4 separate regions of the Homo sapiens genome follow, and regions 2, 3 and 4 are each linked to region 1. Evidence: promoter capture Hi-C in 16 types of primary human blood cells and fetal thymus (Javierre and others, 2016). All regions are on one chromosome and are shown on one strand. Each heading gives the region's core, a stretch centred on a gene start or on the middle of the fragment in contact. The rest is flanking DNA. Distances are from core to core; before and after follow the strand shown.

The links. The method cuts DNA at HindIII sites, captures the fragments that hold promoters and counts their contacts. A CHiCAGO score of 5 or more calls a contact.
Region 2: a contact is called between a fragment that was not itself captured here and the fragment with the promoter of MEIG1 in region 1, in 1 of 17 cell types (naive CD4 T cells). The highest score is 5.6, in naive CD4 T cells.
Region 3: the fragment with the promoter of RSU1 here is called in contact with the fragment with the promoter of MEIG1 in region 1 in 2 of 17 cell types (activated CD4 T cells and fetal thymus); the score reaches 7.7 in activated CD4 T cells.
Region 4: a fragment that was not itself captured here is called in contact with the fragment with the promoter of MEIG1 in region 1 in 5 of 17 cell types (naive CD8 T cells, total CD8 T cells, naive CD4 T cells and 2 more); the score reaches 10.0 in naive CD8 T cells.

What each region holds. Positions count from the first base shown.
Region 1 is chr10:14,957,985-14,960,893 of GRCh38, forward strand. It overlaps MEIG1 (meiosis/spermiogenesis associated 1), which reads left to right and starts at 1,404. Exons shown (of 3, transcript NM_001080836.3): 1 at 1,404-1,573. RefSeq lists a silencer at 1,627-1,676. The HindIII fragment of the contact is 3,683 bases long and covers 1-2,378 here.
Region 2 is chr10:13,588,032-13,590,731 of GRCh38, forward strand. The region is part of intron 1 of PRPF18 (pre-mRNA processing factor 18); the gene reads left to right. Among named protein-coding and RNA genes, the nearest start is that of PRPF18, 2.4 kb to the left of the region's middle. The HindIII fragment of the contact is 1,042 bases long and covers 798-1,839 here.
Region 3 is chr10:16,815,973-16,818,972 of GRCh38, forward strand. It overlaps RSU1 (Ras suppressor protein 1), which reads right to left and starts at 1,452. Exons shown (of 9, transcript NM_012425.4): 1 at 1,343-1,452; 2 at 1,001-1,112. The coding sequence starts at 1,109. It overlaps LOC105376435 (a long non-coding RNA gene), which reads left to right and starts at 1,727. Exons shown (of 3, transcript XR_930708.3): 1 at 1,727-1,784; 2 at 2,709-2,770. RefSeq lists enhancers at 931-1,090, 1,761-1,870, 1,901-1,990, 2,021-2,070. The HindIII fragment of the contact is 3,392 bases long and covers 1,383-3,000 here.
Region 4 is chr10:13,786,045-13,788,860 of GRCh38, forward strand. The region is part of intron 5 of FRMD4A (FERM domain containing 4A); the gene reads right to left. Among named protein-coding and RNA genes, the nearest start is that of PRPF18, 200 kb to the left of the region's middle. RefSeq lists enhancers at 1,400-1,449, 2,265-2,816. The HindIII fragment of the contact is 4,505 bases long and covers 1-2,816 here.

The sequences.
Region 1 (2,909 bases), core at 154-2,653:
TGACAACAGACTACAGAGGGGGCATAGAGAGCTGTTGGGAACGGTTGTAATTACCAGAAAAAAGAAAAATTATGATGGCTTGAGTAGAAGCTATAAAGTCAGCAGGTTGCATTGATGGATATGGAAAGAGAGGGCTCTAGGCCACATCTACTAAAAGACATGAAGAAGGAGCAGGGTTTTTGTTTTTGTTTTGGCAGGGAGGTGTTTGGGGAGGTTGTTTTGTACAATCAAGTGGATGTTGAATATACATTGATATACAAATCTAAAGTTCAGAGAAAGACCGGGCTGAAGAGAGAAATTTGGGAGTTGTAAGTAAATAGTTTTTTGTTTTTAGTTTTACTAAGTATTGCCTTTGTTTTAGTATGACTCGTTTATTTAGAAGTTTATATAATTTAATTTGTGATATGTCTTGTGTTTTTGTTTTGTTTGGGGCAGGTGCCCGAGGCCCTTGTCATCTTCATTGACTCCAGCTCATGGCTTGTATTTAACAACGAGCTCAGAAAAATTCCTAAAAATTTAATTACTGAGTCTCCAGAGCTCTAATGAGCTGGCTCCAGCACACAATTGCTCCTTTCTTTCATTCAACAATTTGACAAGTCCTGATGGCTCTACATTCAAAACATGTAAATTGGCCGGGCGCGGTGGCTCACGCCTGTAATCCCAGCTCTTTGGGAGGCCGAGGCGGGTGGATGACGAGGTCAGGAGATCGAGATCATCCTGGCTAACACGGTGAAACCCCGTCTCTACTAAAAATACAAAAAATTAGCCAGGCGTGGTGGTGGGTGCCTGTAGTCCCAGCTACTCGGGAGGCTGAGGCAGGAGAATGGCGTGAACCCGGGAGGCGGAGCTTGCAGTGAGCCGAGATAGCACCACTGCACTCCAGCCTGGGCGACGGAGCGAGACTCCGTCTAAAAAAAAACAAAAACAAAAAAACAAAAAACCGTATATCTTGAATCTGATCACTTTTCGCTTAGATAGTACTGTAATATAGTAATAGATAATGCTAGAAAAAATAATTAAAGCTATAGATATCATCTATTGTAGGTTTACTGATTGTCAGGCACTATGGCGACTCTCTGGAATGGTTCATTCCTCGCAAATGAATAGATAGGAGATATCTACTATCAGGAACTACAAACACAGTCTCCGTGCTGTGATCCGCTTTCACAGGGAATTTTGTCTGGGATTCAAGTAGCGGCAAGTAACCCTTTTTCGCCCTCCATCTCTGCTCAGGGGTGAGCCCTGGCAGCGCTCCTACCTGGGACCTACATTGGCTTAGTAAGATGGGCCGGCGCCCACCCCAGCCCTCGCGCATGCGCATAAAAGCCCACTCCCGGGGGCGGGGCCTGAGCTAGCTGGGCGGGGCCTGAAGGAGCCGGGAGCTCCTGCAGCTTCATCGCGTTACTAAGAGACGCGAGGGTCGCGAAGGGCACAACACTTGGCCTCTCGCTGGCCCTGCTCGCGGATCCCGAGTAGAGAACGCAAGCACCCACGCCCGCCTGCAAGCTCCCGGGCGCCCCCGGCCTCTCCTGCTCGGCGGAACGAGGATAACCCAGTAGAGCCGGACCCAGGGGTGGGTGGATGCGTCGCTGGAGGCGAGGGCCCTGCCCGCCAACCCCTGCGCCCCGGCCGTAGCCCCACCCCGGAAGTTCTTGCCCCGCCTTCTCGGCTCCGCAGTTCTCTGCTGTCTCCTGAGGTTTGCCAGGGAGATCCCGTGGTTTTCATGTCTCTTCCGTGATTTTTAGGGAAGAGGGTCACTATTTGGCCCTTCCAGAATCTCAGGGTCCGGTTCTCCCGGAAGTTTCCGGGCCGCCCCGGACCCCATTGGCTTTAGGGGCCGCGTCTCCGAGGGCTCCGATTTGGGCCCTAGATTTTGGAATACTGTGTTTTGTCCGTCCCAGCCTTCACCAGGCGGATTTCATCTCCCACACAGTTAGTGATTTATGGCAGAAAGGAAGCTGGAGGGATGGGGACTGCAGGTTAGCTGTGAGGGCCGGAAGGGAGCGGTTTTGTGCTGCACACAGGCAGGTCAGCACTCCCAGAGCAGGGACCGCCGGGCGTGCTTTCGGAACCGCTTTTGTCTTTCAAATGAACGCCCAGCGACAGCAGACGGGAGTTCCAGGACCTTAGAGACCGGCTAATGCTTCTCTTTAAGTTAGGAAACAGGCGCAGGCGTGTTCATGGCCTTGCCTAAGGTTACGTGCTGGTTACAGGGCTCCTCCTGCTGCCTCTTAAGAACAGAAATAATCTAATAGGAGGAATAAAAGGGACTATTAGGGAGGCTAATGCTCTTGAAGTTTTAATACTACTAAAAGTAAAAGCGCTTTTCAGAGTGAAAGGGAAGTGAAAAGGGAATTTGGGTGGCTGGCTACATCAGAAGCTTCTGTTCCAACTTTAGATTGTCAGGGAGTTGAGATGGTGTTTTTTGTTTTTATTTTTGTTTTAGTTTTTTGAGACGGAGTCTCGCTCTGTAGCCCAGGCTGGAGTGCAGTGGCGGGATCTCGGCTCACTGCAAGCTCCGCCTCCCGGGTTCACGCCATTCTCCTGCCTCAGCCTCCCGAGTAGCTGGGACCACAGGTGCCCGCCACGATGCCCGGCTAATTTTTTGTATTTTTAGTAGAGACGGGGTTTCACTTTGTTGGCCAGGATGGTCTCGATCTCCTGACCTCGTGATCCACCCGCCTCGGTCTCCCAAAGTGCTGGGATTATAGGAGTGAGCCACCGCGCCGAGATGGTGTGTTTTTAAAATAACGTGCCCGAGGCCGGGCGTGGTGGCTCACCCCTGTAATCCCAGCACTTTGGGAGGCTGAGGCAGGCGGATCACCTGAGGTCGGGAATTCGAGACCAGCCTGACCAACATGGGAAAACCTCGTCTCTACTAAAAATACAAAAAAATTAACCAGGCATGG
Region 2 (2,700 bases), core at 69-2,568, 1.4 Mb before region 1:
CTCCTACCTGTTGGCATTCTGCGGACGTGCCCCAGTGCTCCTGAGAGTTCCCTTCTGTCGCCTTACGAAGGGTTTGTGCCCAACTGAAACATGGAGGAAGGGCCGCCGGGCGCGGTGGCTCACACCTGTAATCCCCACACTTTGGTGGGCAGATCACCTGAGGTCAGGAGTTCGAGACCAGCCTGGCAAACATGGTGAAACCCCGTCTCTACTAAAAACACCAAAATTAGCTGGGCGTGGTGGTGCGCGCCTGTAATCCCAGCTACTCAGGAGGCTGAGGCCAGAGAATCACTTGAACCCGGGAGGCGGAGGTTGCCGTGAGCCGACATCGCACCACTGCACTCCTGCCTGGGCGACAGAGTGAGACACCGTCTCAAAAAAAAAAAAAAATTCCTTCTAGCCAGGTGTGGTGGTGCGCGCGTCTAGTCCCGGCTGCTTGGGAGACCAAGGCGGGAGGATCGCTTGAGCCCAGGAGTTCAGGCTGCAGTGAGCTATCATCGTGCCACTGCACTCCAGCCTGGGTGAGAGACCGAGTCCCTGTCTCTAAAAAAAAAAAAAAAAAAGTAATAAAATTCCTTTCTAATAGTAAATCCCAATTTTTTAAATTCTATTCCTCCTCCTTCTCTCTTCTTCAACACATGAAAAGTCTGTAGGCCTGCTCTTCACTGATGGGAATGCTAAGACTCTTTTGGAAAGGTACTAAAAAGGGGGAGAAAGAATTACATGATTTAGGAACTTCCTGAAGATGATCTCCCTTACTTTATTGTGTAGCAGTAACTTAGACCGCTGGTTCTCAAAGCTTTTGGTCTCAGGACCCCTTCACACTCTTAAAAGTTACTGAAGATCTTGAAGGACTTTTGTTTATGTGTTATTTCTATCCGTATTTACCATATTAGAAGTTAAAACTGAGAAACGTTAAAAATACTCACTGATCGATCATTTGGAAAACATTGGGTTACTGAATTATGCAGGTCTCCCACCTGTTGACACATTTCATTACAAAATATGAAAAGATCACTTCATTTAATATCCACTGATCTGAGAAACATCTGTAAGCATTAGGAAACTGTCAGGCTCCTGATGACAGATCTAAGTTCACCACACTTAATTTCCACTTGGAAGCTGGAATTTTATCATAGGCAACAAATATTATCAGTTATTTTCTTGAAGTGATCTGCTCACTTTGTTCAGTTTGGGGAAGTTGTCTGCCAAATACCCAAGTCTGAAGAACCATGGTTTGCCGGGTGTTCTTAAGTGTAAAAATGGTATTCCGTGAAAAAGCCAGTTTAGCTTGCAACTCAATTACTTTCCTCCACACAACCAGCAAACTTTAGTATAAATGAGAATTGTTGTATGCATCTTTCCTGTTTTGTCACATAATATTAAAAAGATATGGCCAAAGATCAAGACTTAATAAAAATAGTAATTTTACTCCTTTATCATAAGGAGTAAATTTGTTTAGAGAAACTGGCTCCCTCTGGCTGCAGTGGCAGTTTAGAGTCACTGCCTTGGTTCTTGCTAAGGCTTTAGCAAATTTACCATTGCTTTTCACCTACAGTGCAGATGTCATCAGAGTGAGCAGGCAGATAATGCCTTACTGTAGAAAACACTTTTGACCTCATGAGTCCTCTCAGAGGGTCTACAGGACCCATGGAAATCCGTGCATCACAGAATATCTGACTTAGATATTTGGATGTTGTGTACGATTGATGTATGTGATGTAGTGTAAGTAAGTTAGAGTTCTTAGCTTGGTAAATGGCAAATTTCATGATCATTGAAACTTTAAAAACAATTAGAAAAGTGGAGGTAATAGAATGCTGTTTGGTAGGTATGGGGAAAAGCTTGTTCATATTTGTAAATGTTTTTATGTCTACTGCAGGGACCTTTTGATGAGTGGTTGGGAGTATTTTAAATTTAGGTGTTGGAGTGCATAGTGGATGTTAGGAAGGGCCAGGGTGTTGAAATCTAAGTGCTTTAAAGGGAAAAGTGAATCACAAAATATTCAGCCCACCCTCAAGGTTCACAACATGAATATTTGCATAATCATGTTCTTCGTCATTGAAATGCACCAATCTACAAAAATGATCATTAAAAAAAAAACTTTAGATTCTTCAGGGTCATTTATAATTTATAATATATAAACTTTTCCTGGGTGTCTTTCATTTTTTAATTTGGTAGTTGATTGAATTATCACATAATTCCAGCCAGAAGATAAGATTGATTTTTTCAATCACAGAGCAGTTCAGACCAACAAAGGGCGTACATGAAATGGGAATTAAAATACTGACATTCGGCCGGGCGCGGTGGCTCACGCCTGTAATCCCAGCACTTTGGGAGCCTGGGGTGGGCAGATCACGAGATTGAGACCATCCTGGCTAACACGGTGAAACCCCATCTCTACTGAAAATACAAAAAAAAAAAATATATATATATATATATATTAGCTGGGCATGGTGGCAGGTGCCTGTAGTCCCAGCTACTCAGGAGGCTGAGGCAGGAGAATGGCGTGAACCCGGGAGGCGGGGCTTGCAGTGAGCTGATATTGTGCCACTGCACTGCAGCCTGGGCGACAGAGCGAGACTCCATCTCAAAAAAAAAAAAAAAAAATACTGACATTCATAGTTTATATTAGCAGTAATGTTAGGCATCATGCAATATGTGTTTTCTAACTTGTACAACAAGTTGCCATTGTTCCCATTT
Region 3 (3,000 bases), core at 202-2,701, 1.9 Mb after region 1:
TGTGTTCAGATTCAGAAAGGCCTTGTACATCACGCCAAGAAACCTGGAGCATTACCGTCGATAATGGACAACCTGGAGAAGTGCGGAGAGGGTTTAAACCAAAGCCACGTCAGCCTGAAGAACTGCTTTAGCTCACTTATCACAGGTTTTTCAAATATTAGAATTAGTAGCCAACATCTAAAAATTAGCAAATTTCACATAAAAATATAGAATCTTGGTTCCTTTAAGAAAATAATCTGGCACATTGGGCCAACATTCCTATGGTGACATGTGTCTGAGTAGCAGGTGCAGCAGCTGGCCCCTTCAAGTGGGACACCTATCACCTAGTTCATAACCGCCCCTGACCGCCCTCACTTGGAGGCATGTGAATCTGCAATCCCTGGTTTTAAGGGAGAGGGTAACACCATAGACAGGGGTTACAGGAAAATGACACTGAAAGTGACCCAGTGATTAAACTGGGCAGTGAAACTGAAGGCAAGAGGGCAAGTTAGGAGGATTTCACCACAGCATGAGGAGGTGACAAAAGCCTGAACCAAGTTCGGAGAATAAATACTCAGAAGAATGTAAAGATTCAAGAAATGCTTAAAACGCTCCAGGCACAAGAATGCTTATTAACCATGGAACTTTTCTGTGTCATTTGTTCATGGACAAAGACTGTATTAGGAGACAGGAAGAAGGACTCAAAATTAATTTTCAATTTATAATTAAAGTGACTATTAAGCAAACTGTGGAAAATCCACCTCAATGCCATACAGCAGAGACAACCGATGAGGCACAGCTGTCTGTGTGATTCTCATCGTGGACTCTCAGGATCGTTTTCCAGGTGGAACAGAACAAATCCTACTGCAAACCCTCTGCGCGAAGCCCCTGACAAGTGAGGTTTACAAGCAGGGGCTGGGGTCTAAACCAGTACAATCGCTCACAGCAGGACCAGCAGTGAATTGGCAAACTTAGAAAGCCTTCCAGCTCATCCACGGGAGAGTCCTGCCCGAGAACTCACAGAGGCCGTTGACATCCAGCATGTTGGAGATGCCCCGGTCACTCATGTCCACCTCGGGCTGGTTCTTCTCCCGGCTCTCCTCCACCAACTTCTTCAGAGACTTGGACATGGTCTGCACCGAACAACAACAAAGCACGTGGGCGATGACAGCAAGCGCAGAGGCGGAAAGGCAAGAGGCCTTCGCTGCCACTCTGAGGCTTCCCCAGGGTTGGAGCGGGTGGGCGTCCGAGGGCGTCCCAGGGGCTGGTCCGGGTGCGGGGAGGGGATGGAGTGGGAAGGGTTCAGCCCCGCTGCGGCCACGCAGCGAGAAGCAACCCCAAGTGCAACACCGCACACACTCACCACGGAAGGTAGCCCCTAAGACGATGGGCGTGCAACCACAAGCTTCGGCAGAACGCACTCCAGCTGCCCTCACTCCCTGCAACACCGGCACTGAACAGCGAACACGCCCTGTCTCGGCGCCCCGCGCAGGCGCACACAGCGCCGCTGCCAGCTCCACGCCCGACCCTACCCATATTAGGAGAACAGCTCTCCAGACGTGTCTCCAGGGCCAGGCTCCGCCCTTAAAAGTCTGTGGAAGAGGCTGGCTAATCACGTTCGTTATTCGGCTTCGAGACCCCGCCCCACGCTGAGGATAGTTTATCCCGGTGGCGTCCACCCCACGGTTTGGGACGCTGATTGGGCCGAAGTTGGCGCGTGCGCAGTAGACTTGGCGCAAGCTCAGTTGATGGGTCGAAGCCCAGAGGGCTGTGGGCGGAAGTGGGGAAGTTTGTGGCGTGACTGTGTAAGGGAGGGTGGTGGCTCAGGGTGGGTGTTGCGAAAGCTGGAAGTAAATTGCTTCCGAATGTTTCGCTTGTGTAATAGCCGCTCCACTCGCCAGAAGTTGCTACCCTGAGCCCGTCTCCACAATGTGCCTCTGAGGGACCTTGTGGGGCACGCAGTTTCCCGCCCTATTAAGAGCTTCTCCAGGCGGGGATTCCGGCGCGGTCTGCGTTTCCCCAGCGCCCTGCTGGAAATCTTTTTTGACAGGTTTCTAAGGCTGGCTTTTAGCCTTTTTACTTGTAGCTAGAACCTACAAGTAAAACCCTACTATTTTAAAAGTCATTTGAAAACACCACTAAAGCGATGTGTCTTTCCCAACTAGGACTTTTACATTTGTGAAACATGACGTTCTGGCTTCCAGGAATCTCTTGCTTTCTCTTCCAAAAGCAACCAAATTTTAAATTCTAGAGAAACTGTTGCCCTCTGCCTCCCTATTTCCTGACCCAGTCTCAGTCACCCAGCAACATCCTGTGCTTCTCTCACCAAAAACCCTGTCCTGAGAGACTATTTTATACTATGGAATAAAAATTGGCACCAGGCACTTTTCTTCTACTGGTCACCTAAATTGATGATAAGACGGATGCCACACATATGCATTTATATATTGTAGATTGTAGCAGGGATCAAAGCCTTAAGGAGATGTGGTAAAATAATGTAATTATATCTCCGAACCAATTGGATAAAAAAAGGATCTGCACTCTTAAATTCGAAAGCAGGTATTTCTTGCTTAAAAAACATTCCAGATGAAAGAGTTATTCCTCCATTAGTCTTCTTTGATCTGGAACCGTCCTTGGCTTTTATGTTTATTGAACTAGACATTATTTAAGAATACAGACCAGGTATTGTGTGGAATATCCTTCAAAGTAAGTTTGATGTTCCCTTTCAGGTTATGAATTTTTGGAGAAACACCACTAAAGCGATGTGTCTTTTCCAGTGCATGATATCAAGGTACAGATGGCATCGGTTTCTCCCAGTATAGGTGATGTTCACTTAAATAAGGTAGTGTCTGCCAGGTTTCTTCACCATAAAGTTACTATTTTTTTCTTTATGATTAAAAATAATGCTGGGGGGAGGTGCTACTTGATTACACCCCATTCCTCATCTAATTTTTACCCACAAGTTTTAGCATCCACTGATGATTTTCTAACTTCATAATTTCATCAATACGTATTAGTAGG
Region 4 (2,816 bases), core at 106-2,605, 1.2 Mb before region 1:
AAGTCTTTGCTGTTGTGAATAGTGCCACAATAAACATACGTGTGCATGTGTCTTTATAGCAGCATGATTTATAATCCTTCAGGTATATACCCAGTAATGGGATGGCTGGGTCAAATGGTATTTCTAATTCTAGATCCTTGAGGAATCGCCACACTGTCTTCCACAATGGTTGAACTAGTTTACAGTCCCACCAACAGTGTAAAAGTGTTCCTATTTCTCCACATCCTCTCCGGCACCTGTTGTTTCCTGACTTTTTAATGATTTGATTTTCAAAAAATAAATCTATATCGTAGCTCATGCCTGTAATCCCAGCACTTTGGGAGGCCAAGATGTGTGGATCAACTGAGGTCAGGAGTTCGAGACCAGCCTGGCCAACATGGTGAAAGCCTGTCTCTACTAAAAATACAAAAAATTAGCCAGGCGTGGTGGCGGACACCCGTAATCCCAGCTACTTGGGAGGCTGAGGCAGGAGAATCGCTTGAACCTGGGAGGCGGAGGTTGCAGTCAGCTGAGATCATGCCATTGCACTCCAGCCTGGGCAACAAAAGCGAAACTCCGTCTCAAAAATAAATAAATAAATCTACATCCTTTGCAAAGGGCCTCTGGCAAAGGGTAGGCAGAATAATAAAAGAAACTAAAGGAAGGAAAAGAAGGAAAAGCGAGGAAAGGGAGAGAAAGGGGAGGCAAGGAAGAGAGAAAGCAATCCTAACACCAGAATATTAACAGAAGCCTCCTGAAGTTGACGGTGGCCTTTGTGCTCTAATGATGATTTTGAGTCTAAATTCATATAAGGTCTGAAATAACTTAATTTTCAAAGTAATGCCATATGTTTCTTAAAAGAATCTCATTTGCTTTAGTTCTTAAAAAGTAAAGAGTAAAGACATCCTGCCTCTTCCACCCCAATTTTCTCCTGAATAGTATATTAAGAAAATATAACGCTTCCCTTTTCGTTTCCACTCTCATATGATGGAAAACTGAATTGAGGTGGCAAATTCTACATCTCTGTGACTGCCTTCATTTCCACCAAGCTCTCTGTTGTCTAGCCATAAAAGGGGCAGAGAAGGTACAGGAAATAACACGCATATTCTGAGATGAAGAGAAAAAAAATCACCTCCTCTCGACGGAAGTGGAAAGCAGTTTCCTGTTAACTTTTATCACCAAGACGACAGCCTGGAAAACCCCGTGAGCTCCGGGCCTGTCATATCATTGTTCTGTTAGGGGAGGGTATGGAGCTCATCCTGAGCTTTCCCTCCCTGCCAGGGAACGGCTGAGTCAAAAACGCCTGCAGAGAAACAGAGCTCAGACCTCTCCACCCGCACGCCCAGAGAGGCATGGTGCACACCGGTGGCACCAGGGACAAGAGCCTCCTGGGAAGATGGGGAGGGCTGAGGGTTTGGATTCAAAGTCAAAATTTTTTTTTCTTTTTTTTCTTTTTGAGATGGGGTCTTGCTCTGTCACTCAGGCTGGAGTGCAGTGTGCAACCACAGTTCACTGCAGCCTCGACCTCCTGGGATCAAGTGACCTGTCTGTCTAAGCCTCCCAGATAGCTGGGACTACAGATATAAGCCACCATGCTGACTAATTTTTTATTTTCTGTCGAGATGGGGTCTCACTATGTTGCCCAGGCTGGTCTTGAACTCCTGAGCTCAAGTAATTATCCTACCCTGACCTCCCAAAGTACTCAGGTTACAGGCCAGCCTCTTCTTCTTTTTTTTTTTTAATCCAGTTTTTGGCTGGGCATAGTTTTTGGCCGGGCATAGTTTTTGGCCGGGCATGCCTGTAATCCCAGCACTTTGGGAGGCCGAGGCAGGCAGATCTGTCTCAAAAAAAAAGAAAAAAAAAAAAAGTGGCTTCTTTTTCTGATTTTCAGGAGAGCCTCAGCAGTAGGTGGCAATGTTGCATTTCCTTAACTACCAGCATGGAGCAGGGAGTGCTTCCAGGGTTCACAAAGAACATTCCAGGTCTCTGGGTAACCAGGGAAATAAATGAAGGCTATGTCTCGGATTCAGAGGGTCTGCATGGACAGTTCCGAGTCTGGCTGTGTATTGACCATGGCTTTATGATGCTTGGATGTCTGTGACCTTGCTGGGCCTGGAGGGACTGCTGGTGCCAGGGTTAGCCAATTTCCAGACCCCAAGACTTCCACATGTCACCATGGATCCAGGGTCCACCCCTCCCACCACCTCTCGGCTCTCACACCCAGGGCCACTATTTCCCTGCCCTCACCACCCTAGGGACACGTACCAGACAACTAGGGGGCAGCCCCCATGCTGCAGAGCCCGCTGAAATTATTTAAACTAGCCAATCCCAAGCCTGCTCTCCCAGCCTTGCCCGTTCCTCCCCAAAGAAACCACAAAAAATGCTCTTGCCCAATTGTTTCCCGGCTCCCCAATGCCTCCCACATGGCCCTGCGTGGCATGGTGTGGCCCCTTCTCCCAGGAACTGAGTGACAATCTTTTCAATGTCTGTCCTCTCCTCATCTGCTGGCCTCACCACAGCTGAATCATAATCAGACCTACATTTTAAACGGGTTTTGGGGGCACACTTAGCAGGACTGAATCTTAGGGCATCTATTTGAGTCTAAAGGAACACTCTAGATGGAGCGCAGACCTTGCTAAGAGGTTTCCTGACTCCACAAGCAACAGCCCACCCAAACTAGCTCAGATGATCCCGACCCGAGAATATTTTATCAGAGAGTCTGAAGGAGAACGAAATAGGTGCTCTGTGTTTATGTGTTTGAGCTTATTAAATATTAAACAGCCTCTAAAGCCTCGGGGAGTCCCGTCCCCTTCTTTGACAAGTGAAAGCCTCTGGTT